7 separate regions of the Homo sapiens genome follow, and all the other regions are linked to region 6. The links are contacts of gene promoters, found by promoter capture Hi-C in blood cells and fetal thymus (Javierre and others, 2016). All regions are on one chromosome and are shown on one strand. The core of a region is centred on a gene start or on the middle of the fragment in contact, and the rest is flanking DNA. Distances in the headings are between cores, read along the strand shown.

The links. Contacts are between HindIII fragments. The CHiCAGO score rates a contact against its expected background, and 5 or more counts as called.
Region 1: a contact is called between a fragment that was not itself captured here and the fragment with the promoter of IMMT in region 6, in 1 of 17 cell types (monocytes). The highest score is 5.4, in monocytes.
Region 2: the fragment with the promoter of MAT2A here is called in contact with the fragment with the promoter of IMMT in region 6 in 1 of 17 cell types (erythroblasts); the score reaches 5.2 in erythroblasts.
Region 3: a contact is called between a fragment that was not itself captured here and the fragment with the promoter of IMMT in region 6, in 1 of 17 cell types (fetal thymus). The highest score is 5.1, in fetal thymus.
Region 4: a contact is called between the fragment with the promoter of VAMP5 here and the fragment with the promoter of IMMT in region 6, in 8 of 17 cell types (fetal thymus, monocytes, neutrophils and 5 more). The highest score is 10.4, in fetal thymus.
Region 5: a fragment that was not itself captured here is called in contact with the fragment with the promoter of IMMT in region 6 in 1 of 17 cell types (naive CD8 T cells); the score reaches 5.0 in naive CD8 T cells.
Region 7: a contact is called between the fragment with the promoter of TMEM150A here and the fragment with the promoter of IMMT in region 6, in 1 of 17 cell types (erythroblasts). The highest score is 6.6, in erythroblasts.

Annotation. Positions count from the first base shown.
Region 1 is chr2:85,318,707-85,322,051 of GRCh38, forward strand. It overlaps TGOLN2 (trans-golgi network protein 2), which reads right to left. Exons shown (of 4, transcript NM_006464.4): 4 at 1-3,345. Among named protein-coding and RNA genes, the nearest start is that of TGOLN2, 7.6 kb to the right of the region's middle. The HindIII fragment of the contact is 596 bases long and covers 1,553-2,148 here.
Region 2 is chr2:85,537,079-85,540,497 of GRCh38, forward strand. It overlaps MAT2A (methionine adenosyltransferase 2A), which reads left to right and starts at 2,090. Exons shown (of 9, transcript NM_005911.6): 1 at 2,090-2,300. The coding sequence starts at 2,210. PARTICL (promoter of MAT2A antisense radiation-induced circulating long non-coding RNA) reads right to left here and starts at 1,808. Exons shown (of 1, transcript NR_038942.1): 1 at 389-1,808. RefSeq lists enhancers at 1,008-1,097, 1,498-1,707, 1,778-1,867 and silencers at 1,898-2,167, 2,348-2,677. The HindIII fragment of the contact is 3,815 bases long and covers 1,097-3,419 here.
Region 3 is chr2:86,804,087-86,807,644 of GRCh38, forward strand. LOC105374846 (a long non-coding RNA gene) reads left to right here. Exons shown (of 3, transcript XR_940321.3): 2 at 3,501-3,558. It also overlaps a transcript of CD8A not described here. Among named protein-coding and RNA genes, the nearest start is that of CD8A, 15 kb to the left of the region's middle. The HindIII fragment of the contact is 1,014 bases long and covers 1,704-2,717 here.
Region 4 is chr2:85,583,031-85,586,512 of GRCh38, forward strand. VAMP5 (vesicle associated membrane protein 5) reads left to right here and starts at 1,401. Exons shown (of 3, transcript NM_006634.3): 1 at 1,401-1,463. The coding sequence starts at 1,461. RefSeq lists an enhancer at 1,078-2,033 and a silencer at 1,323-1,672. The HindIII fragment of the contact is 4,352 bases long and covers 292-3,482 here.
Region 5 is chr2:86,776,622-86,780,103 of GRCh38, forward strand. RMND5A (required for meiotic nuclear division 5 homolog A) reads left to right here. Exons shown (of 9, transcript NM_022780.4): 9 at 1-1,420. Among named protein-coding and RNA genes, the nearest start is that of CD8A, 13 kb to the right of the region's middle. The HindIII fragment of the contact is 2,601 bases long and covers 366-2,966 here.
Region 6 is chr2:86,193,632-86,197,060 of GRCh38, forward strand. IMMT (inner membrane mitochondrial protein) reads right to left here and starts at 1,831. Exons shown (of 15, transcript NM_006839.3): 1 at 1,707-1,831. The coding sequence starts at 1,751. RefSeq lists enhancers at 1,332-1,381, 1,502-1,681, 1,702-1,821. The HindIII fragment of the contact is 5,542 bases long and covers 829-3,429 here.
Region 7 is chr2:85,601,165-85,604,317 of GRCh38, forward strand. It overlaps TMEM150A (transmembrane protein 150A), which reads right to left and starts at 1,534. Exons shown (of 8, transcript NM_001031738.3): 1 at 1,443-1,534; 2 at 720-900; 3 at 271-318. The coding sequence starts at 784. It also overlaps a transcript of USP39 not described here. RefSeq lists silencers at 1,004-1,063, 1,164-1,743. The HindIII fragment of the contact is 3,378 bases long and covers 234-3,153 here.

The DNA.
Region 1 (3,345 bases), core at 601-3,100, 870 kb before region 6:
TATCAGCACATGTGTCACTGGAAGCCATCATGGGAGTACTATGTCAGAGCGTATGTAACTAGCTGTCAGGTCTTTCCCCGTTGCCTCAGCCTTTCTACACAGACTGGCCTTCAACTTCCCCTGAGTCCAGAAGTAGACTCTTTCAGCAACTCTATTCAGGAATCTGCAGCAGGAAAACTGCTTCCTCTATTAACATCTATGACTGAAGCACAGATGTGTCTAATAGAAATCACCCTTCACCCAAAAGCTGGGCGCAGAAAGGGAAGCCCTTAGCTGACTATAGGAGGTGCCTCTTGTGGCTCCACGTGCTTCTTACACACCACCCCCCAGCTTGAGCGATGCCTCAGCCAGCTCACCCTCATCCACACAATCGCTAGAAAACATGCTTCAAATATTCTATCTTTGAAAAGACACCATGCAGAAAATAAGCTTTCCTCTGATGTGCGGTATTTTCTTCAATGCTATTTCTTTCTTTTTTTTTTTTTTTTTTGAGACGGAGTCTCGCTCTATTGGCAGGTTGGAGTTCAGTGGCACGATCTCGGCTCACTGCAACCTCCGCCTCCCGGATTCAAGCAATTCTCCTGCCTCAGCCTATCTAGTAGCTGGGACTACAGGTGCACGTCACCATGCCCGGCTAATTTTTGTATTTTTATTAGAGACGGGGTTTCACCATGTTGGCCAGGATGGTCTCGATCTCTTGACCTCGTGATCCCCCCGCCTCGGCCTCCCAAAGCGCTGGGATTACAGGGGGAGCCACCGCGCCCGGCCTTTCTTCAGTGCAATTTCTAAAGAGAAACTTAAATCCTGTTGTATTCTTTCAACACAAGCAATGATACTTCTCAGAGTCTGCTCAAAAGCTCAGCTCTGTGGACTCCGTGACAAAATGTACGCGTCCACTGCCGACCCTCTTGGTTTCTGAAACCAACCTTTCTTCCTGCTCTCCTCTTTAAGAGCAAACCCCAACATGTATAAGGTCACAGCAAGTGGTAGCCAGGAAAAGCTGTGGGACCCCTCATTTGAGTCACATCCATATGGCATGGAGAAAGAAAACCTCTCTGCCAGAAGGAACTGAACTCTGGAAGTCCTAAGGAAGGTCACCATGATCAGCAGATAGGAAAGCATTGCCAAGGGCTGTCCCTCAAGAGCTTAGTTTTCTTAGGGAGACCAGAAAGACATCAGATCCTGACTGCCCTGTTTTGCTCAAGTTCTGAAATGAGTGGCATGATGAAGAGCTGGTGGAGCTGAGGGAAAGAGTCAACCATGTGGGGTGGGGTAGTGAGGAAGGTGTATGAGGAAACAAACTGGGCCCTGACGAAACAGGCGGATTGGGGAAGGAGAAAGAAGGAAGGGAGAGAAACCTAACCAAAGAAACATGGGAAGCTGGAAAGTCGAGGGCACAGCCGGAATAAAGGCACAGATGGGCACCCCACAGGAGGGGCCTTGGCCAGGTTGGGATGCAGAGAAAAACAGGCAGGAGGGTGTCAATCTATAGCATCCTGAACCCCAAAAGGTCTGTAACTGGATTCTCTAAGCCTTGAGAAGTTCACACCAAAGCTTCAGACCAGGGAAAATATTTTGGAAAGATCAGTCTTTCCAAGAGTGAGCTCCTTTCCAAGAAGCTGGACAGGAAACCCAATAAATGTGGATCTGAAAAAACAAAATCCAAGAGAGAAGCAAAATGGGCTGGGGGTGTGCAATAAGAGAAGCAAGGAAAATGGAAAGACTGTAGCTGAGGATCTTTTATTAAAAAAAAATGGATGGGACTTTGGTGATGAGAGAGAAAAAGGGCAAAAGTCTGCAGTTAGGAATTTAGGTGACCGAAGACTGTCCTAGACAGTTGGGAGGGACAGGCTGATGGACAGAAGAGAGAAATTCCTTTCAATGACAACCAAGCTGAACTATTCGATACCAGCAGAACTGGGTTCTTTAGGGATTAAGCCAAGACAAAGACTTGGGAATCACTCACTCCGAGGATGAAGAATGGGTTAATGGCTGAGGAGACAGTCAAAGGAATAGAGAGGCCTGGCTTTGAGGGCCTCTTCACCACCAGCACAAGATAAGGCAAAGGACCATTTGTCAGAGACACCAAGAAAGGGGAATTTCCATTTGGATGGTCAATAGTGTCCAGTTCTGCCAAGGACAAGACTAAGCTTTGAGAAAAAGCCATGGATTTGGTGATTGGATAACTGGTAACCTTTAGAAAAGTTTAGTTGACAGACAGAGACCGAAGTGAGTTAGTAAAAGTCATGAAGAGAATGAATGGCAACTTAAGGGAAGCAACATACTGGAGAAGTTGAGCAGCGGGATGAATAACAAATAGGACAGATGGGAACAGAAAAATCTGGGTGCATACGAAGGTGGATGGAAAGGAGCTGGTACAGATGGGCACAACCAGAAAACATGAGGAGGGGAAAGGAAGGGAAAAGGAAGGCAGGCAGGGAGAGAGACGTGAAATAGCCACAGTCTTAGGGGATGCTAGAGAAGCCTAGAAGATTCCTCAGGTTGGTGCAAAGTATTATAAGACTAACGCATCAGTACAGAGAATGACCCAAGAAGGGTAGGAGTTCATTCCTTACCTTCATAAAGTAGGCTATCCGCCAAGAATGAAAATGTCAACTCAAAGCTATGGGCTGTTTTAAGCAAGGTGGAAGATAATATAAGAAGCATGGTCCTTTCTTCAGACTTACTGCCTTGACAGCACAGAATTCATCTTATTTCCCTCATCTCCCAAGTTATTTGTATTTCCCTGAGATCAGCTCAGAAACAACTCTCTTTAGGCTCTCTACAATGCGGTAGAGCATGATTAGAAAAGATAAACCTTCAAACAATAGTGTTGTCCAAGACACTACCCTCACTTATCCCAGGGGAACCCACGGAATTTCTTCATTTGTATTAACTCCTGACATGGCATGGAAGAAGAATTTTTATCAAATACCCTTGGCATCTTATATCAGATTAAAGGACCATTAAATACACTGAGGTAAAATTGGCAGAGAGTATAGTTTCTATTAATAAATCTAAGTCTATTTTGTCTGTTTTAGGCAACAAAGGCAAAATGGACTTTGTGGGAAATGTATCTCATAAAAGCCCTTTGGAAAAACTGCAGACCAAAACCAAAACCCTCCTTCATGTTTTCTCGCATGAAACATAAACTTGCCCTATTTCAAAAAGTTCCTACTGAGTATGATTGTGTGAAAGATCACACTACTTCAAATCATATTTATTTTAAAAATCTGTGATGGGACAGTGGCCTCACTGCCAGGAAGCCCAAGTTCTGTTTTATGCTCGGTACAACTAAGTGGAAGTTGATTCACTTTGTCTCAAGCTACATAAAATAATCAGAAA
Region 2 (3,419 bases), core at 840-3,339, 660 kb before region 6:
TGTGCTAAAGACTCTACTTGCACTATTTGAATCCTTGAAACAATCCTATGATGTACTATTAATATTCCAATTTTACAGAACGAGGATACTGATGCATAGAGAGGTCGTGACTCCAAACCCCTACTCTTACTGTATTACACCTACACACTATTCACAAGTGAGAGAAGTAGGTAAGCAACTATGTACAGCTAAATCTCATCTCCTTGGCAGGCCTAGCCCCACTGTGGAGTTGGTAGCACAGGGGTATCAGGATTTAATGAGCCAATCATTGACTTTACGCTCCTTGTTCTGACTCCCTAATAAAATAACCTTCTAGTTATATTCTGGCTTCCCATATAGATTTTTCTGCTGGGAGATAATGCACTGACCAGCCTACACACGCATTTTGTTCCAGTTGACAATTTTATTACACATTGTAAGTTAATAAATTGGCATTCTCCTTTAAAAAATAACAAAAAAATTTAATAGTCTTATACAGTTACTTTCCCATGAAGGGTTAGCTTGAAAAGTAAAAAGCAACGAATAAAAATATCATCACCTATTGTCTCTTTTGTGGTCGAACCTTTTCTTGCTGCCTGCTTTGAGCGACCGTGGATGTGGTCACTGAGTCTGGGGAGGAGCCCTTTATCTTCTTTGTGGATGCCCCCAGCACAGCCCAAGTGCTTCCTTTGTTTCCCACTGAGCCTTTAGCAAATCCCACCTTTCCTCCTGCACCGACGGAGAGGATTGTTCTTGGGAATGCACCTTGTTCTACTGCCGCCAGCAGTAGGCAGCTGGAGACTGTTACTAGGGGTCTCCTTCACCTCCCCAGCGTAAAGTACATCCCATGCTAGGAGCAGGCCGTTCCCTGAGAACCTCATTAAACCCGGCGTTCTTGTCACGCGCTCCGCTCAGGGCCACCAGGCCACCAGCCCGACCAGACCTGCACCGAGGCCCAGCCCCAGAACAGGCTGCAGAGACCCCCGCCCCCAAGGCGGGCTCCCTCCAAACGGGACTCCATACTCCTTGCTGGCTCAAGTTTTGTTTCGCTCTTTTTCCCTGTAATTCCTTTATTGGGCAAAACTGGGACAAACGCAGGTGGACATTTTAAAGTGAAAGCTTCATGAAACAGCCCATTCCACGCCGTCAAGAGATCTGCTTAAGCACATTCAAGGGAACGAATAGCCCCCACCCACCAAAAAAGAAATGTTCGTTCCATATTCTCCTGAACAGAGGATTGAAACATCGATTCCCCCCCCCTTCAAAGGAACAGGAAGGCCACGGGGCAAGGACGGACTTGGGAGCGGCCTCCTTTCTCTCTGGAGGGAAAGGCTGGAGCGCTGCCTCCACTTTTAAGTCCACGAACCACGAAGGGTGAGGATCCCTCAGAAACTTTAGCGCAGGGGAGCGGGCAGGAGGGCGATTGTTTAAATCGATGGCAGCACCTTCATTAATCTGCTTTCCGGCCATCTTCAGCAGAGCCATTCACCAGGAAACGACTAGAAGGTGGGCCTGCGCCCCTCAGATATCCCGGGGCCGGCAACGAGCCGGGCAGGGACGCCGAAGGAAGGCCGTGAGGAGCCCTCGCTGGCCGGCCAAGATGGCCACCTTCACATGGCCGACCGCCACCGGCTCCCTGCCACCCGGCATCTAGAGGCGGGACGGCCAGAAAGACCCCAGCCGCAGCACAAAACCTCCGCGATTCCCGCCGCCTCCGCTGGGGGACGCGACCTCCGGGAAAGCTATCCCGGCCAACGGTCGGAAGGGAGGTGCCATGTCACCGCACAGGGGAGCGGGTCCAGCAAGCCCCAGTCGCTTTTTCTCCCACATCAAACAAGGAAGAGCAATCCCCCACGTCTCCTCGCGTCTGCATTTTTCTCCTAGCTCTAGCGGCTCAAGATAGCTGAACGGTCTCTGGAGGGCCGGATTGCCACGGCACCTCCCGCGGCCGCGCAGTGTGGTTCAGCCCGGACTCCGCGGGGCGAGCTGCCCTTCCTCCCCCGACCCCCGCGCAAGTGGTGCATTGGCGCGCGGCGCCGAGGGGCGGGGCCCGAGCCGGGCGCGCGCGGGCGCTGCTCTATAAATACCGGGCCGCACCGCCCGCTGCTTCGTTCGCTCCGCGCCGCCCGCCTGCTACGAGTAGAACGCTGTCCGCAGCTTGCGCATTTCGCAGCCGCTGCCGCCTCGCCGCTGCTCCTTCGTAAGGCCACTTCCGCACACCGACACCAACATGAACGGACAGCTCAACGGCTTCCACGAGGCGTTCATCGAGGAGGGCACATTCCTTTTCACCTCAGAGTCGGTCGGGGAAGGCCACCCAGGTGAGGGGACGGCCTGAAGCGAAGCGTGGGGCGGGGCAGAAGGCAGCGCCAAGGTCCGGCTGGCTGCGGCCGGCCGGTGGTGGGGCCCGCGCGGGTCGTCCTCGTCCGCCGGGTGATGGAAGAGCGGCGACCGCGCGCTTTCCTCGTGGCGCCGCCAGGGCCTGGCGCGTGGCCGCCGCTCCTCTTCCCCCTCCCCTCTCCACCCTTCCCTTCCCCCCTCCCTTTTCATTCGGTCGCGCGCCTAGGCATGCGGAAGGTTCCAGAAAACGTGAAGGGCGGGGGCTGTGGTCGCTAGTGAGTTCTGGCCGGGAAGGGAGGGCACTGTTAACCCCTCCCGGCCCTGCCGTCTGACAAACCTGGAGTGGGCGACCCGCCCCGCGTGCTCGCGTCCGGCCCTCGGGAGCGCGCGCCCCGCATTGCAGCGGCGACCACGTGTTTGCCGCATGTGGTATCTGGGCGAGGGGGAGCCGTGAGCCTCCCCGGCTGTCCTGGCCCTCAGTTTGAGGGGTGGGGGGCCTATGCCTTGGGACGTCGTCTGGCTCCACTGCCTCAGTGGTTAGGTCTTGACTACACACTGGAGAATACGCACATGCCCTTCGGCGGATATGGCCTTGCCTCCAAGGTGACGGCCTCTGACTAAATATAGCTCATGTCCAAGAAGGCAGTCCTTATTTGGACCCCTTGTGAAAAGGATGGGAAGCATGAATTAGGAGCTGCCATTGCTTTGGGTTCGCATTTAAAGTCTTCGGTGCAGGGTTTTACTTGAGGCTTTGTCCGCTCAACCGCCATTATGGGGATCAATTGGCACGTGAAGGAGGAGTAAAGCTATATTTCCAGGAACTGAAAATCTCAGCCTGAGCATATCGGCTAGTAAAGATGATTATTTGGCTCTTTTGGCTGTTTCTGCCCTTAGGATGACCGCAGTAGTTATCTATCTGGTGGCTTTAGGGTCTGGTCAGTTTACTGTGCCCATGATGAAATCCCACAAGTAACTTAGTGGTATGAGAGGACAAACCCAGGATCTTGATGAGTGCTGAAGGTTAGCTGTTACACCAGTTAGTAGTAGACCGAAGTTCAGAGCCTGCAGTCTGGCTTCCACATTATGTTTGGATTCTGTTT
Region 3 (3,558 bases), core at 961-3,460, 610 kb after region 6:
AAGTGAGATGATGCATAAGTCAATTTGTTTCACTATAGTATCCATTCTACTAAATATGTGTGTCTTATACCATGATGTTGTATATACCTTATATATACACAATAAAATTTATTTAAACAAACAAAATGTGGTATATACATAGAGTGGAATATTATTCAGCCTTAAAAAGGAAGTTCTGACACATGCCACAATATGGATGAATCTTGAGGATATTATGCTAAGTGAATTAAGCCAGTCACAAAAAACCAAATACTGTATGATTCTATGTATTTGAGGTATTTAAAGTAGTCAAAATAATAGAGACAGAAAGTAGAATGGTGGTTGGGACAGGCTGGGGAGAGGGAGGAGTGGGAGTTATGTTTAACGGTTATAGAGTTTTAGTTTTTCTAGATGAAAAGAGTTAGAGAGAAGGATGGTGGTGAAGGTTGCACAACAATGTGCATGAACTTAATACCACTGAACTGTACACTTAAATGTTAAAATGGTAAGATTGTTATGTGTATTTTGCCACAATAAATTAGTATTATTATTTTTTTTAGAGACAGAGTCTAGCTCTGTCAACCAGGTTGAGTGCATTGGTGTGATAACAGCTCACTGCAGCCTCCAACTCTTGAGCCCCCAACTCCTGGCCTCAAGCAGTCCTCCTGCCTCAGCCTCCCAAAGTGCTGAGATTACAGGGGTGAGCCATTCACTGTTCCTTGCTAAATCTTTTTTTTTTTTTTTTTTTTTTTTTTGAGACAGAGTCTCGCTCTGTCACCCAGGCTGGAGTGCAGTGGTGCGATCTCAGCTCGCTGCAAGCTCCACCTCCTGGGCTTAAATGATTTTCCTACTTCAGCTTCCTGAGTAGCTGGGATTACAGGCACACGCCACCATGCCTGGCTAATTTTTGTATTTGTAGTAGAGACAGAGTTTTGCCATGTTGGCCAGACTGGTCTCGAACTCCTGACCTCAAGTGATCCACCTGCCTAAGCCTTCCTAAGTGTTGGGATTACAGGCATGAGCCACCACACCTGGCCTAAATTTTTTTTTTTAATGAGTGAAGGAGTCCATAGTCTTTCATACTTTGGGGTGATACAAGAAAAGGAAAAAGGTTTAATGACAACTGCCACTTTCATTTATTCATTCCTTTGTTGATGTACTTTTGGGCTGGGTTTTGCTGTTATAAGCTAAACTACAATGGACATCCTTGTACACATTCCCTAGAGTCCAAGTACAAGATTTTCTCTAGGGTGTTTTCCTGGAAAAGGAATGACTTGAGGAGTATGGCAACCTTGTGAGAAATGACTGATTCGAAAGATGTGTCCCATAGCTTTTGATACATTTTTCTCCGAAGTCATGGTTCCAGTCCACACTCACACCAGCTGTGGAGGAGTTTTCATTTACCCACGAGCTTTGTTATTTCTGGTTTTGTCAGTCTTTTCAATTCTGCCAATCTCATAGGGTGTGATGGTATCTCGTTGTTTAAACCTGACTTCTCTTGTTAAGGTTGAGACCGAGCATCTGGCCCCATGTTTGCTGGCTATTCAGCTTTCCTCTTCTGCAGACTGCCCGTTTGTCCACTGCTCTGTTTCAGTAACTTCCATATACCAAGAACTCTCTGCCTTCCATAACTCACATCACTTAAAATACGAATTTTTTTGATGCTTAGAGAACCTGATTTCCTTCCAACCAATTGTGCTCTCCTAATTCCAACAACCAAATGAAGCTTCAACTCTTCTTTTTGTTCAGAGCCCTCCTGAGTCCTGTCCTACTCACAGTAAAGGCTGTGGCAAAATAAATAAATAAGTAAATAAAGGGGAAAAATACACTGCATCCAAAAAAGGCTCGTTTCTTTTTCTTTCTTTCTCTCTCTCTCTTTCTTTTTCTTTTTCTCTTGTTGTGACAATTGTCACAACAAAATGTGTATGTGACAATTTGTTATCTTAAAACAGTTTACCCAAAATAGAAACCTTACAAAGCCAGTGGAAACTTTTCTTTTTGCATAAGTTGGTTAATTCTTTTGAGTGCTGGCCTGGGATCCATGAAATAACCTCAACTCGACCATAAAACTTTTCACTCCCACGTTATGCAAACGGTGATGACCTTGTTGGTGGCAAGCCCCCCGTGTGACTTTCCGAGGGGATCTGAGTGGTGCAAGGTGGAGGACGCAGTGATGGAAACATTGCGAGAGGGAAGGCGTCTGTTTCCACCCACTTACCCTCAGAGCATGAGGGCTGGGCGAAGGCTCTGACTCCTGTAGGGGGTGACCCATTTCTAGGACTATAGAAGGAGAGGTGTGGACCTGGAAAAAGGAAGGAAAGACCACGGCAAGGAAAGTCAAGAAGTGGGAGAAGTCAAGGGCTCTCTCCTCCCTTCCTCCTTGTCCTTGGCCTGCAGCAACTCCTCTTTCTCTTTTTGTGGGGACAGACTGAAGAGGATTTCTTAGTATGGTTTGTACCTTCCCAGTAGAGCAGGAAAAAGAGGAACGAGCTGCTCCCTCCACACCTCAGACGCTGAGGTCAACTGCCCTTTGGGCGGGGCACGTTGGCTCACGCATCTAATCCCAGCACTTTGGGAGGCCGTGAGGGGAGCATCACTTGAGCCCAGGAGTTGGAGACCGGCCTGGGCCACATAGTGAGGCCCCATCCTCCGGCTTGCACCACTCAAATTCCCTCGTAAAGTCACACGGGGAGCTTGCCCCCAGCAAGGTCGTCAGTTTGCAAAACATGGGAGTGAAAAGCTTTATGGTGGAGTGTAGGTTATTTCATGGATCCCAGGCCAGCACCCAAAAGAATTAACCATCTTGTGCAAAAAGAAAATTTTCCACTACTTTTTTAAAGTTTCTATTTTGGGTAAATCGTTTCAAGATAACAAATTGGAGAGAGACCTAGAGAGAAATGAGCCTTTTTAAGATGCAGTTTATTTTGCCCCATGATGTTTTTGTTTTTGTTTTTGCCAGAGCCTTTACTGTGAGTAGGACAGGACTCAGGAGGCCTCTGAACAAAAAGAAGCGTTGAAGCTTCATTTGGTTGTTGGAATTGGGAGAGCACAATTGGTTGGAAGGAAATCAGGTTCTCTCAAAAAATAAAATAAAATAAAATAAAAAAAAAAGCCAGCGTGCTGGCGCGGGTCCATGGTCCAAGCTACTTGGGAGGCTGAGGTGGGGGGATCGCTTGAGCCCGGAAGTCGAGGCTGTAGTGAGCCGTGATTGCACCACTGCACTCCAGCCTGGGCGATAGAACAAGACCCTGTCTCTTAAAACAAACAAGAAACAAAACAAAACAAACAACAAAAAAATTCATTTGGGAATGTTTCTGCGCGTGCCCATAAGCAGAGCCATGCTATAGGATCTCCCCTGTGCCCCAACAATCAGCTTCTTACTTGGAGGGTAGAGAACGGTGCTTCCCCACGCTGCTGTGCAATGGATAGGAGCTATGTGAAGCTGGCGTATGGGTGGGGTTTGCAGGCTTCGTCCGGCTTCATCGCCGGCTGCTGACCCGGCACCAATTCCTGTTCTGCAGGTCTCACCGCAGAGGGGCACGCCAGCCATGAGGACAGATGAGGGAACACGTGATGCCA
Region 4 (3,482 bases), core at 151-2,650, 610 kb before region 6:
AACCTCCATCTCCTGGGCTTAAGAGATCTTCCTGCTTCAGCCTCCCCTGTAGCTGGGACCACAGGTGTGTGCTACCACACCTGGCTAATTTTTGTATTTTTTGTAGAGACATGGTCTCACTGTGTTGCCCAGGCTGGTCTCAAACTCCTGGGCTCAAGCAATCCTACCACCTTGGCCTCCCAAAGTGCTGGGATTACAAGTGTGAGCCACTGTGCCCAGGCTTGGGGTAGTCTTTGCTACAACATGTTAATCCTCTCTCTCCTGGATTCAAGGTGTAAGGAACTGAAGTGAAGCTTCTGCCTTGGGACCCAGGCTGTCCAAGGTGGGGGTGAGTGTCTGTGAAACCCTCTTGGTCTGGGACTTCTGTATTCACAGAGGCTCAGCCCCAGAGAGGGAAACTTTCAATTCTGTTGGTCAAGAGAGGCCTCACTTGAGGGACCAGGCCCAGTGGCTCACACCTGTAATCCCAACACTTTGGAAACCTGAGGCAGAAGAACTGCTTGAGGCCAGGAGTTCGAGACCAGCCTGGTCAACATAGTGAGACCCTGTCTCTCTCAAAAAAAAAAAACAAACAAACAAAAAAAAAAAAACGAGGGACCTTATTTTAAGATGTCCGAGGCAGCTTGGAGTAGTGGAGAACAGGTAGCTGGTGGTTTCTCTGTAGCAGTGAGAGGACAGGATGGGTAGATTCGGCTCAGGAAGGCTCTGAAGTGGTAGTAGATACACCAGCCTCCCCCATCCTCTGACTGAGGAGCAAGTGCATGGCGGGTGCATGACAGCACAGAGCTGCACTTGCCCTCATGGTGAGGAAAGACATACAGAAAGGCTAGAGCTAGTACTTTGCCCATGTGGGGCTGCTTTCTTTTTGAATAGAGGTGAAAGTCACACAATGTACAGTTTGTTATTTTAAAGTGTACAGATCAGTGACATGTATTCAGAATGTTGTGCAACCACCACTTGTCTTTAGTTTCAAAACTTTTTGGGTGCCTGTTTTTGGTTCTGGGTGAGATGCACTCACCAGGGTGATAAAGACCCTGCCTGGCTTGTTCATGGCGTCTCCAGGACCTAGTATGGTGCCTGACCGTGGCACTCATAGGGTGTTTGTTGAGTGAATGAATGATGCCTTTTCAGCTGAACTCGAGCTAGAAGACTCCAGGGCTCACTCCACTGTGCCCATTCCACAGATCCGGCCCCGAGGTGTGCCCGTTCACCAGGCAGAGGTGTCATCCGAATTCAGGCTCCTGGGGCCCGGGAGGGTCCGACTCTACGGACCCAGGTCGCTGTGGCCCATCGCTTTCGATTTGACTTGGTTTCTGTCGCCACTCGCGGAAGGCGCGCCCCCCGCCCTCGCTCGGCGGCCCGCCCCGCCCCGCCCCTGCTCTTCCTCCGGGGCCGCTGGCACTGCGGCCGCTCCGCAGGCAGAGAAGCCGGGAGCGGGCGAGGCGGCGGCGGCAGCAGCGATGGTGAGGGCCCAGGCGGGGCCGGCCAGCCCTGCGACGGGCAGAGGGCGAGTGGCGAGGGTGGGAGAGAGGAGTCCAAAGTCCGCGGGCTGGGGCCTCCCCTGGGGCCCACGAGGGCCAGACCTGAGGCGGTGACCACTGCTGGAGCAGGACGGGGCGGACCCTCCACTCCCTGCGCGCCGCATGGGAGAGAAATGCGTGAGCCCCGTCCTGGCTGCACCGCGCAGAGCGAGCGGGACTCGGGCTCCCCATTCTCCTGAAGCAAAGCGGTTAAGAGCACCGACTTTGGAGTCGGACTCCGGGCTGGGATCCCAGCTCTGTGACCCGGGACAAGTCACTTAACCTCCCTGAGCCTCCTTTTCCGCGTCTGTGAAGTGGGGTCAGTAATACCTGCCTTGTTGGGTCCTTGCGAGGTTAAAGGAGCCACAGTGGCAGAGACCCGCCTGGCACTCAGAACCCACTGCTAAGAAGTGGTAGGAAATGTAACGACCTCGTCAGCCCTTTCCGCAGCTGTGAGGAGCCAAGCCTGGCTCAGGAGTTGGAAACTTGAGCAGATGGGGTGGCAGAGGCCATTCCAGCCCCATGGCAGGGTGTTGGAGGGCGAACTCCTCCCCTAGAGAAAGAGAAAGGGAGATGTTTACTCTGAAAGTTCCACTGAAGTTATCAGTGTATGGCACAGGCCTGACTCCCTGCTAACCTCTACCTAGTGACACATTCCTGAGTTGAGTCATCCCCACTCCTGCTGCAGATCCTGGCCTTTGTCCTCACTTGCCATCTCCAAGGCAAAGATGTCAGGAACAGCTGGTGCCAGTTTCTCCCTTTCCCTAGGGCTCCTGGGAAAATGGACTGGGCAGGAAGTAGGCTTGGTGCTTTAAGATTTTGCCTTGGAGAAACTGACAGAGGTGTGATGGATGTGGCCTGGCTAGGGGTCAATGCCTGGATGGCCTTATCTCCAGGGAACTTGGAGGCAGGAAGAGGAAGTGGGGCAGGAAGGTAGCACTGAGCTCTGAGGCCAGGCCAGGAAGCTGAGGAAGGCTCTGAGAATAGGGCAGAGCCCAGAGCCCACTTAAGGGTGTGCAGGGCAAGGGGTCAGGCAGGGGTAGGGGTGGGCTTCAGCCGGCCCTTAGCTCTTTGGGAGAAGCTCCTGAAGTGAAGGCTGAAGGCAGGATATTTTATTGGGGGAGGAGGATACTGGGAAACCTGGGGATTCTCACGGGTACATTTGAGGCAGTCTGTGGAGGAGAGGCTGGGGAGGTCGCTCCTCCACCCATCCATCTCCTAGCCTCTTCCTGTTTCTTCTTTCACTCTTGCCCCTTTAGCGCTTTCCTTCCTTCCACCCATCCCCTTTCCCTCCCTGGTCCTTCTTCCTTTCACTTTTCTTTTCTTCTCTATGACTCATTCAACCAACAAGGATTTCTTGGAAATGTCCTTCATGCCAGCATGGTGACAAGTATAGGGGACAGAGCAGGAACAAAGCAGTGATGGGAAAGATGGAAATGGAATGAATAATTACTTGAATTCATTAATCTTGTAGATGATCCTCTCTCCAAAGAATGTGTGTGTTGAGCCACAGGCCTCCCTCATATGCACACAAATTAGGTTGGTAGCATCAACCAGATTCTTTAGCCAATCAGCTAAAGTGTCTGACCTCCTTGTACCTGCATCTAATTTAGCACACGGGTTACAAATGTGGTGCCTGGAGTCTGTGTTGGTTCAACTCCCAGATCTTCTACTCACTGGCTCTGTGATCTTGGACAGGTGATTTAACACCTCTGAGCCAAAGTTTCCTATAAAACTGGGAAAAGGCCAGGCGCAGTGGCTCACACCTGTAATCCCAGCACTTTGGGAGGCCGAGGCGGGCAGATCACGAGTTCAACAGTTCAAGACCAGCCTGGCAAACATGGTGAAATCCCGTCTCTACTAAAAATATAAAAAAATAGCCGGGTGTGGTGGCACACGCCTGTAGTCCCAACTATGCGGGAGGTTGAGGCAGGAGAATCGCTTGAACCTGGGAGGCGGAGG
Region 5 (3,482 bases), core at 416-2,915, 580 kb after region 6:
TTGGTTATCCGCACAAGCTGCTGGTAGACTACATTAGCCCTCTGGTTTTCCAGCTCAACCTCTGATAAAGTGGACTGAGAGCCACGCTGCTCAGTCTGTTTCGTCAGCCGACTCAGGTTATTTTCAGGGAAGGCATGGAGGCATAGTTTGGTTAGTTTCATCACTAGGATGTATAAGGTGACGACACAAACCAAATACCTTTCTTTCATCACTTAACTATACGTACTTTATCTCTGGTAACACTAGAATGCTGTGGTCTTGAGGGAATGTTAGCAAGGAACACATAGAAGATTTGGTGTTTCATAAGCCTGTCTAGGTGTGGCAGGTTTTGTGTGGTACACTGATGTTTACCATAAGCAGGTACAAGCTTCATGAACCGTTCTTAATGAACTATAATTGAATAGATACCAAAAATAGAATGACAAATGTATTTTAATAGCAGATGAGGCAGTTTTAGGATGAATTTTCCACTGTTGATTTTACTTCAAGACATAGCAAGAGAAACAAAATTTTGTTTTCAAGACATTTCCACTGCAGTTTCAAGCTGTAGTGGGCATATGCTTCATTTACTTCCAAAGAGGCAAAAGCAGCTGGAATTGGCTTACAGCACATGCTTTGTTTCATGTTATGGGTGAGGACCTACATACACTCTTACTTTAGCAGTCACTTAACCTTCTCCAGCAAGGCAGTTGTGGGGTTCACTAGGATTTAGTGCCTGATCTTTTTTTTGGGAAGGGGCGGGAATGAATGTGTTGGGGCTGGGAGGGAAGCAGAAGAAAATGGGAGTGTGAGTGAGTGTGCATGTGTCTGAAGTTCACCATTGCCCCCACCTGCACCTAGCAAGGAACAGGTGTTTGATGTATTTTGCTCATGACTGCAGTATGCATGTATTTTTTTCCTTCTCTGTGTTTTCTAAACTTACACTAAAGGATTCATCAAATCATCTTGTTCAGATGGCTCAGGATTGTATTTATTTTGCTTACCCCGTGCTCTTGGGTTCTATAGTATTTCTATAATTATGTAACGAGAATAGTGTTGCACTGTAATCTATCATATAGAGCTATATGTATGGAAAATTTTGATCAATTTTTTAAGAAATGTATCCTGTTTGCAAAGGCACAGTAAAGTTGCATCTTATAGACTATAGGCAATAAAGCTAACAATAAACCTTATTTAACACAAACCACATCCATATCCTCTGTTCATTTGATTTTGGAAAAAGTAGCATATCCAGTAGTTTCAGGGAATTCATTTTAACTTTAAGAATTCTGATATATTTAATTTATAAATTTCGGACTGATATAATAGAGTTTTGGAAAACTATAAGAAATGCTTTGTTAATGTGTGTATTCCTATGTAAAACACATGGCTTTTCCTGTGTATATTTTTAAAAATTAAAGAAATGCACATTTAAAAAGTGTTTTGTGGAACCAGTCTGTATAAATGTGCCAGGTGACAAAGGTATGAGGGAGGGAGTAGGGAGGTGCTGACTGTGAGAAGAGAAAATTGCTGTCTGTATTTGCTAAGGGTCTGCATGTCAAGAATTTAAGAAAATATCTGTCCCCATCTTACTGTGTTTCTGTGCCACCAACAGTGAGAAGAGAAGGTGACTGAGCAGTGTCCCGAGTTGTTTTTTGTTGTTGTTTTGAGACAGACTCTCACTCTGTTGCCTGGGCTGGAGTGCAGTAGCCCAATCTCGGCTCACTGCAACCTCCACCTCCTGGGTCCAAGCGATTCTCGTGCCTCAGCCTCCCGGGTAGCTGGGATTACAGGCATGTGCCACCATGCCCAGCTAATTTTTTTTTATTTTTAGTAGACAGTGTTTCACCATGTTGGCCAGGCTGGTCTCGAACTCCTGACCCTCAAGTGATCTGCCCACCTCAGCCTCCCAAAGTGCTGGGATTACAGGCGTGAGCCACTGCACCTGGCTGAGTCCCGAGTTTCTGAGTAGGGGATTGTTTTAATGTTTCCAGGCTGCTGCCCCCTCTCGCCCCTCCTGTGCACAGCGGGGACCCTGCCCTGTGTACTGACCAGAGTGGCAGTGAGTGTATGATTGGTAAAGTGGAGCCCGGAAACAGCTCGATGTCCAGGCTGCTGGAGGGGGTAGAACTTGTGCTGTCAGCATTACCAGGGAAGACCAGAAACTGAATTGCCTTGTCCTCCATGGCAGGCCAAGGTTGTAGAGACCAAGCACTTATTTGTACTCCTTTTGTATATTTTTTAAGAGAAAGACTTAGTGTTACCTGAGATTTTAGAATGTTTCTTACCTATGGAAACCCTTGTGGTCCCATCCAGTCAGGTTGGAGCTAGTGGCCCAGGTAGTATAGAAGAGGCCTGGCAGGCCAGGCCAAGGTCTCACCACCTTTCCCTCCAGCATTTGGGCTCCTCAGGACTCAAAGTGTGGTCCATGGACCAGCAGCATCAGCATCACCTGGGAGCCTGTGAGAAATGCAGAATCTCAGGCCTCAGCTCAACCCTGCTGAACCAAAGTCTGCATGGTCATGAGAAAACGGGCTTCCCTTATAAGGAGTGTCCTGGATGCTTCCTATTTCAGGAAGTATCCTCCCTCTTAAATGTGGCAGGTCAAGATCACACGTACTGAACAGAATTTACCCTTGAGGACTAAGGGTAAATCTGTTAGTCATCAAGAAAATTTAAATTTAGTGTGCTTTGAACTCTAGTTATTTTAAAAATCAGTGTATTTCTTTAAGCATCTAGGTAATTGAGGGAGTACTGTATTTGCAGTATGGTAAAAAGCATTTTCCACCCCCTCCACCAAAATGGGGAAGGTGAGTGTCAAAGATGAAAAATAATTTTCATAATGACAAAATAAGGACTAAAAATGCATCCTTAAACAAAACAGCTTGATGCTTCTTACCCCCCAGCAGAGAAACTTGATAATAAACAATATCCCAGCAGAAAATAGGCTTTCTTAACTTTTCTTTTTCCTTCAGCACCCAGTAAGAAGCTTAATAGCATAACCCTGTGTACACAAAATTTAGAATTCTGAAATATTTTACAAAACAATATTTAGTGCTACAAATGTGTGATTTTATTTTTAATGCTCACCAAGACTGATTTGATTTTGTGACCTGCTAATGAGCCAGTTTTTACAACCTTGCATGACGGGACAATGATGCAGTGGTCCACTTACCTACCAAACTTCTTTGAAATCTGTCAATATATCTGTGATAGAAAGTACTTAAAAAAAAAAAACACTTTCCTTGTAGGGTGTTTCATACCCTTGTGTGAGCCTCCTATGCTAGCAAATGTGGCGATACATTCAATGTTAGAAGGCTTGTATAATCCAGAGCTACTAATTACTGAGCTCTCCTGTGTGCCAGGCAATGTTGCATTTACTTAGCTATACTTCCTTTCAGCTTAGAAAAGTACAAAGTGCTTCATGCTAAACATTGGCACGTAAAGTAGAATCCTTTAATAAAAAGACGTGTAGTTTAACATGTTGTAGTATGACATCTTAG
Region 6 (3,429 bases), core at 581-3,080:
AAAGGAAAACAAGAGAGATGGGACCCAAAATATTACTTGAGAGAAGCCAAAAGTACAAAGAGCCTCATAAAGCAGCAATGTCAAATGCTACAGAATTAAGGAGATGGTGAGAATAAACCAAAGAATTTTACAAGACAGCAATTTCAAGAAGCTTAGACATCTTGATTCAGAGCTATAAAAGGGTTCATTTTTTATTACCAAGTTTTAATTAGTTTTCTTAATTCCCAAATGGGATCCCAAAAAGTTGACTCTGAATTAACTGAAAAGGAGGTCATCCAGGTGGGCCTGGTCTAATCACATAAGCCTTTTAAATCTGGGTCTAGAGAGGAAAGACCAAAGTAAAAGAAATTTGGAAGTCAGAGAGGCAAGCTCCTGGTAGCCTGCACGAAAGCAAACATCAATGTTATGAATGGCCTCTAGAGGCCTTGAGGCAAGGAACTGTAGGCAGGCTGTAGAAGCTGGGAGCAGTGGCTGGCAAGAGGCAGCAAGAAAAGAAGTACTTCAGTCCTGTAACTGCAAGGGACTGAATTCTGCCAACAAACTGCATGAGCCTGGAAGAGGACCCTGATCTCCAAATGAGAACCACAGCATGGCTAATACTTTGCAGCCTTATGTGACCTGGAGCGGAGAACACAGATCATCCGTGCCCAGACTTCTATCCTACAGAACCCGTAAGGTCATTCATGGGTGTTGTTTTAAGCTGCTAAATTTGTGGTATTTGTTACGCAGCAATAGAAAACTAACACAGGTTCGTTCCACTTTCCTATGGAAGGGGCTGCTTCTGTTACCTAGCAGCAAATAGGAAGAGAAGCGAACTTGAAAAAACAAAGCTTGACTTTTATGATCTCTAACTCACTATTCCTAGGGATTCTGTTCAATTACTGCTTGAGTCACAGTACTTGGTTTGCTATCTACATTTTGCCAAAATATCAACTTCCTGAAAATCATGAGCAGTGGAAACAGGCTTTTTAATTTTCAATTTTAGAAAGTAACTTTGGCAATTACGCAAAACTAGAAGTAACTGGGTATTTAGGCTCCTTGAATGTCAAAGTAGTCCCAGCGCCTGGAGACACAGATCCCTGCCCTAATCTCAGAAATGAGCCACAAGGTCATGACTCCTGTCTTTCCTTGAAGACCAGGAGTTTCAGCTCCACAAATGAAAATCTTTCGCTTTTGTTTGGATTAAGAATAACTCAGAAGTGTTCTCAGCTGCGAAAAGAAAGGCACTCCCTCCCAGATAATTACAACCTTGACCCCTAAAATGTGGACTCTCGCTAGAAGTCCAGGCACCTCCTTATTAAGGATGCAACAAGCCGCCGCTCCGCTCGTCCTGACGGGAACTGTAGTTCTCGCCCGTCGACCTTCAGCACTGAAAACCTATCGCGCGCCCAACCGGCGACCCAGACGCCAGCAGCCAGGATTGGTCCTGGACGGGGGCAGCGCGGCCCTGATTGGACTACATGCCCACGAAGCCGCGCCTCCCGCTACTCTCCACACCCCACCCCGCTGCTGCAATAACCTCAAGTCATCCCAGTCCGGCGAACTCCCTGGTGGCTGCCTAGCTGCCCGCCCGGGCCTCTCCCGACGAGGGTGGCCCTGAGGCTCGCCTTTGTCCTGGAGGCTAGGCAGCGACCAAGGCTCCCCCGTTTTTCGCTGACGGTTCTAGTTCAGCCTCCTCACGCGCCTCCGGGAGCCCCAGTGCTCACCTGGGCGGCGGCGGTCACACCCGATAACTGACAGGCCCGCAGCATCTCGGTCAAGCGGACGGCGCTGCTGGTGGACTCGAGCTGCCGCGGCGGCGCGAGTTAAGTGGAGGCGTGCTTGCGTGTGTGCGTGCCCGCGTCCGCGCCCGGCGCACCGGAAGCACAGCGGACGCCACTGCGCACGCGCGGCCCCTTCTACCGTCCCCGACTCCGCGGCTCTTAGAGGGTGGGCTGTGTCCCGGCTGCGGAAACGCCAACTCCAGGCGATTGGCGCGAAGGAGGCGAAAAGGGCGGATTCCCTTTCCGGGTCGCGCCCGGGCTGCAGGTCCTTATCCGGAAGGGGTTACTAGGTGAACACTGCCGGAGGGAGAGCGCTCTGAAATCCATTCTTCAGCCGCACGTGGAAAATGGACAGCTGTGACTCTTAAAGAGAATTAAAGCAACAAAGCATCTCAGCCTGCTCTATGAGCTGGATATTTCGTAGGAAGGAGCCGATTTGGCGAAAGTTACGTAAACAATGGAATTGTCTCAGTTTGCGCCTTTGTTTCGTTTGACAGCCCTCCAGGGAGTCATAGTGATTGCTGGAGACGGTGAACTAACACTGTGGGGACCCTTGTGCTAAACGTGTCAAGTGGCACAACAAGGATAGGAACACGGGTCCTTTGGACTCCACAGCTTCTGCTCCTTCCAGATTAAGCCACACTGCTTTCTCCAAGTTGTTACTGTAGTAACATCATTTTGGCTGCAGTTTGTGGATGGGTTGGAAGATGGGAAGTCAATGCAGAAGCACCGTTGAAAGTATTCCACTGGGCAGGGCGCGGTGGCTCACGCTTGTAATCCCAGTACTTCGGGAGGCCGAAGCGGGAGGATCGCTTGAGCCCAGAGGTTCGATACCAGGCTGGGCAACACAGTGAGACCTCGTCTCTATATAGAAAAATAAACAAACAAAAAATTTAAAAAGAAAAGTAGGGCCAGGAGCTATGACTCACGCCTGTAATCCCAGCACTTTGGGAGGCCAAGGCGGGTGGATCGCCTGAGGTCAGGAATTCGAGACCAGCCTGGCCAAAATAGTGAAACCCCGTCTTTACTAAAAATACAAAAAATTAGCTGGGCATGGTGGCGGGTGCCTGTAATCCCAGCTACTCGGGAGGCTGAGGCAGGAGAATTGCTTGAGCCCGGGAGGCGGAGGTTGCAGTGAGCCGAGATCACGCCATTGCACTCCAGCCTGGGCAACAAGAGCGAAACTCTGTCTCAAAAAACAAAAGTATTCCATTGATTCTGTAATCAAAATAAAACACGTTAAATATTAAGCATGGTATTAATACTCCATGTATACTCCAGAATTAATATGTTCGTATTAATACTATTAGCATCTTATTGCAATATCGTGGAAACTAACTTTTCTATCTTCTATTGGATTTGCAAAGTATTCCAAGTCTTAACTGGGTAATTTATTACAATATGTATTCTCTCTAGAGGTAGACTGCGCTATGACTTGTAGCATGGAGAGATGGACTTGAAAATTATCTGAAAGCAATAGTTATGTTTGTATATGTTCTATGTTCTATGGTTTTTAGGGGACTACAGTAATTACATATGTTTCATATCTCTTTCACTTAGCTTCCAGAGCAGTCTCCCGTTTTCTTTAGTAATTTTAGCAATTGAATTGCTGCCTCCCTGCCCACTGCTGTCATGCCCAGTGGTGCCGGTGTGATGACTTTTCTAA
Region 7 (3,153 bases), core at 284-2,783, 590 kb before region 6:
TATAGCCTCAGGCCTCAAAGAGGACTCTCTCCCAGACCTCCCCTACAGGGACAGAAGATCCCACTCCCCAGTGCCCGCCTGAAGCAGTAACCAAAGGGGCAAAGGGATAGTGGGAAGTGGGTAGGTGGCAAGAAGCCATGCCTGGGGACCAATTTCAGAGAAGAGCAGTGAGGCTCAGGGTTGCAGTCTGGCTCGTGGCAGCCTCAGGCCCAAGAGGGGACAGAGATGAAGGAAGCTTTAGAGCAAGGTTGTCTGCAGAGTCCTTCATACCAGTTCTCCACAGGGCATACATGGTGGTTCATCACAGCCATGGCATACCTGTGGGAACAGAACTGTCACCCTGGCAGCCTTCCCGAGCCCCACTCAACCCACCCCATGACCCTTCTCTTCAACCTTGATTTCTGGCCCCATTCAGCCTCATTATTGTTGCTGGGGACTCAAGTTGAGGTCCCTAAGGCTTGATGCCACACCAGCACCTGCAGCATGCCCCCAGCTACAGGCCCTCTGGAAATTGCCCTGGCTAGAAGTATATTTGTCAGGGCCACCCTGCTGGACAGCAGTGGTGCCAGCTTGTCCCAAGGGGCTGTGTGCCCAGGCACCAAGTCAGGCTTTTGAGACACCCAGAGTGACCCTGGGTACCACCGTGGCTATGACAGGACAAGAGACTTTGTGTGCGTCATCAAGCTCCTGTTGCCCCCCGGGCACCCCCCTTTACTCACACAGTCCATATGCCAGTGATGGAGAACGCTGACAGGCTGACAGGCAGGAGGATCCAGGCGGTCATGAGGGAGGGGAGCCAGGGTGGTGGTGGTGTTGGGGGGAGGACAAGAGGTAGATGGGGAAGTGGGGGCGGACCAGCTACCTTGAGATGTTTCTGCCACAACCATCAGCTGTCCTGGCCTGGTGGAGAGAGATCAAAGTCCAGGAGTGGGTAACTGGCCGGGAAGGGGGAGGGGAAGGGGGTCAACACCTTATCCAGCGCTCCCGTTGGGTCTCTGAGCGTCCAAAGTTTGGGCTGAGCCCACGGCAGAACGTGAACACCCTCTGGCACTGGGGGCCTCCGCGGTCAACCCAAATGCCACCGGCGTGCTGAGAGACGCAGGCGGACCGTAACATCTGGAAGGGAGTTACCCTCCTTCTGAGGGACCAGGGCTGGGAGAAGGGCTGGACAACCGAAGAGGCCACGCCAAGGAGAGGCTGGGTGCCGGCCCAGTGGAGCGGTGGCGAGTCGGCGGCGCGCAGGCAACCACCTGACCATCGGCGCCCTGGGCGAGGGGCGGGTTCACGCGGAAAGCCCAGCCCGGCCCGGCCCCCGCTCGCCTGGGCGCGGGGACCCCGGCTGGGGCCGGACCCTGCGGCCGGCGACCCCCCAGGACCCGGGACGCGAGAGTCCCCAGGTGATTCCTGGAAGCCCGGAGGAAGGGAAGGAGCCCAGTACGCACCTCCCCGGAGCGCCCCGCCGCCGCCGCACCCTGCTCGGCCCCCTCGTGGCGCCGACTCTAGCTGCGGCCCTCGGAGCAGCCCTGAAAGGTTTAAAGGGCCGAGCGGCCCCGCCCCTGGAGGCCCCAGGCCTCGCCGCGCCGCCCGCCGGGACGTGGAGTCCGCGCAGCCCCGGCCTCGGTGCCCGCGCCCTGCCCGAGACTACAACTCCCGAGCCCCCGCGCCCGCGTCACGGGGGAAACGTGGGCGGTGTCCCAACTTCGGAGGACCTGGGCGCGGAGGGCTGTGGCGTGAAGACCGCTCTAAAACCGAGATGACTAGAGGTTCCGTTTAACCGATTCCTGCCGGGGAAGCGTCAGCAGGTGGGGATCTCGGGGCAGCCTGCATTCCAGCTCTACCTGGGATTGTCGCCGTGCACATGGCTGGAGGAGCGTCTCTCCGCCACTGCGCACATTTTGCAGCCTGCACCGGCCAACGGTGAGTCCTCTAGGAAGCTCTCTCAACGTGGCGCCCCATGCCTGCCTCTGGCCAGGGCTGCGGTGGGTCCAGAGAAGCAGACACAAAGACTTGGCTGTTTCTTAAGAAATCCAAGCGCCTGGGATTTGGCTTATGGTTCCTGTGGCTCAGCAAACTCCGGAGGAGGGCTGCTTTCATTAGATACTTTTTGCTTTCCTGCATACAAGTACACAATGTACTAGCCAGAAATCAGTGTCCAAGACGTGTTTCCCGACTGATCAACACTTATTTGAAATAAGACGGCAGAGACCAGAGGACATCCATTCTAAATAGACACATGTAGGTGTCAGTGTAGAGTAGGTAAGGATTAACATGGCCAGTGTTGGTAAGCAAAGAGGGGAAGGTGAGAGACCCGGAGGAATCTGGGAAAAGGAAACAGGATAGTGTGGGAAAAATTACTGACCAGCTTCACCAAAAACTTACAGGCTATGAGTGCATTCCTGGATGTTTCTTTTTTTTTTACTTTTTCTTTTTCTTTTTTTTTTTTTTGAGACGGAGTCTCGCTCTGTCGCCCAGGCTGGAGTGCAGTGGCGCGATCTCGGCTCACTGTAAGCTCCGCCTCACGGGTTCACGCCATTCTCCTGCCTCAGCCTCCCGAGTAGCTGGGAACTACAGGCGCCCGCCACCTCACCCGGCTAATTTTTTTGTATTTTTAGTAGAGACGGGGTTTCACCATGTTAGCCAGGATGGTCTCGATCTCCTGACCTCGTGATCCGCCCGCCTCGGCCTCCCAAAGTGCTGGGATTACAGGCGTGGGCCACTGCGCCTGGCCCGGATGTTTCTTAAATTATTGCAAGGGTGGAAATACTTTCACATATCAGAAGTGTGCCTGGCATTCTGTCTCAAAGGCGGTCCCAGCATCTGTTGGAGCCCTTGTGAGATGACAGATCATCACCTGAATGGTGCACAGGCGCAGGTTGCCCAGCGTGGGGAGCTGAAGTTTGGCAACACTGGTGAGGCAAAGGCTATGTGAAACAACAGGGTCCTGTGCTTTAGAGAAGTAGAGCAGAATAAACTGCACAATGACTTGAAGAGGGAGAAACCTTCTTGGACCCAGTGGAAAGCAGAAATGGAAGCAGAAAACCTGTTGGAGAGCCCTTTTTCTTTTGAGACAGAGTTTCACTTGTTGCCCAGGCTGGAATGCAATGGTGCAATCTCGGCTCACTGTTACCTCTGCCTCCTGTGTTCAAGTGATTC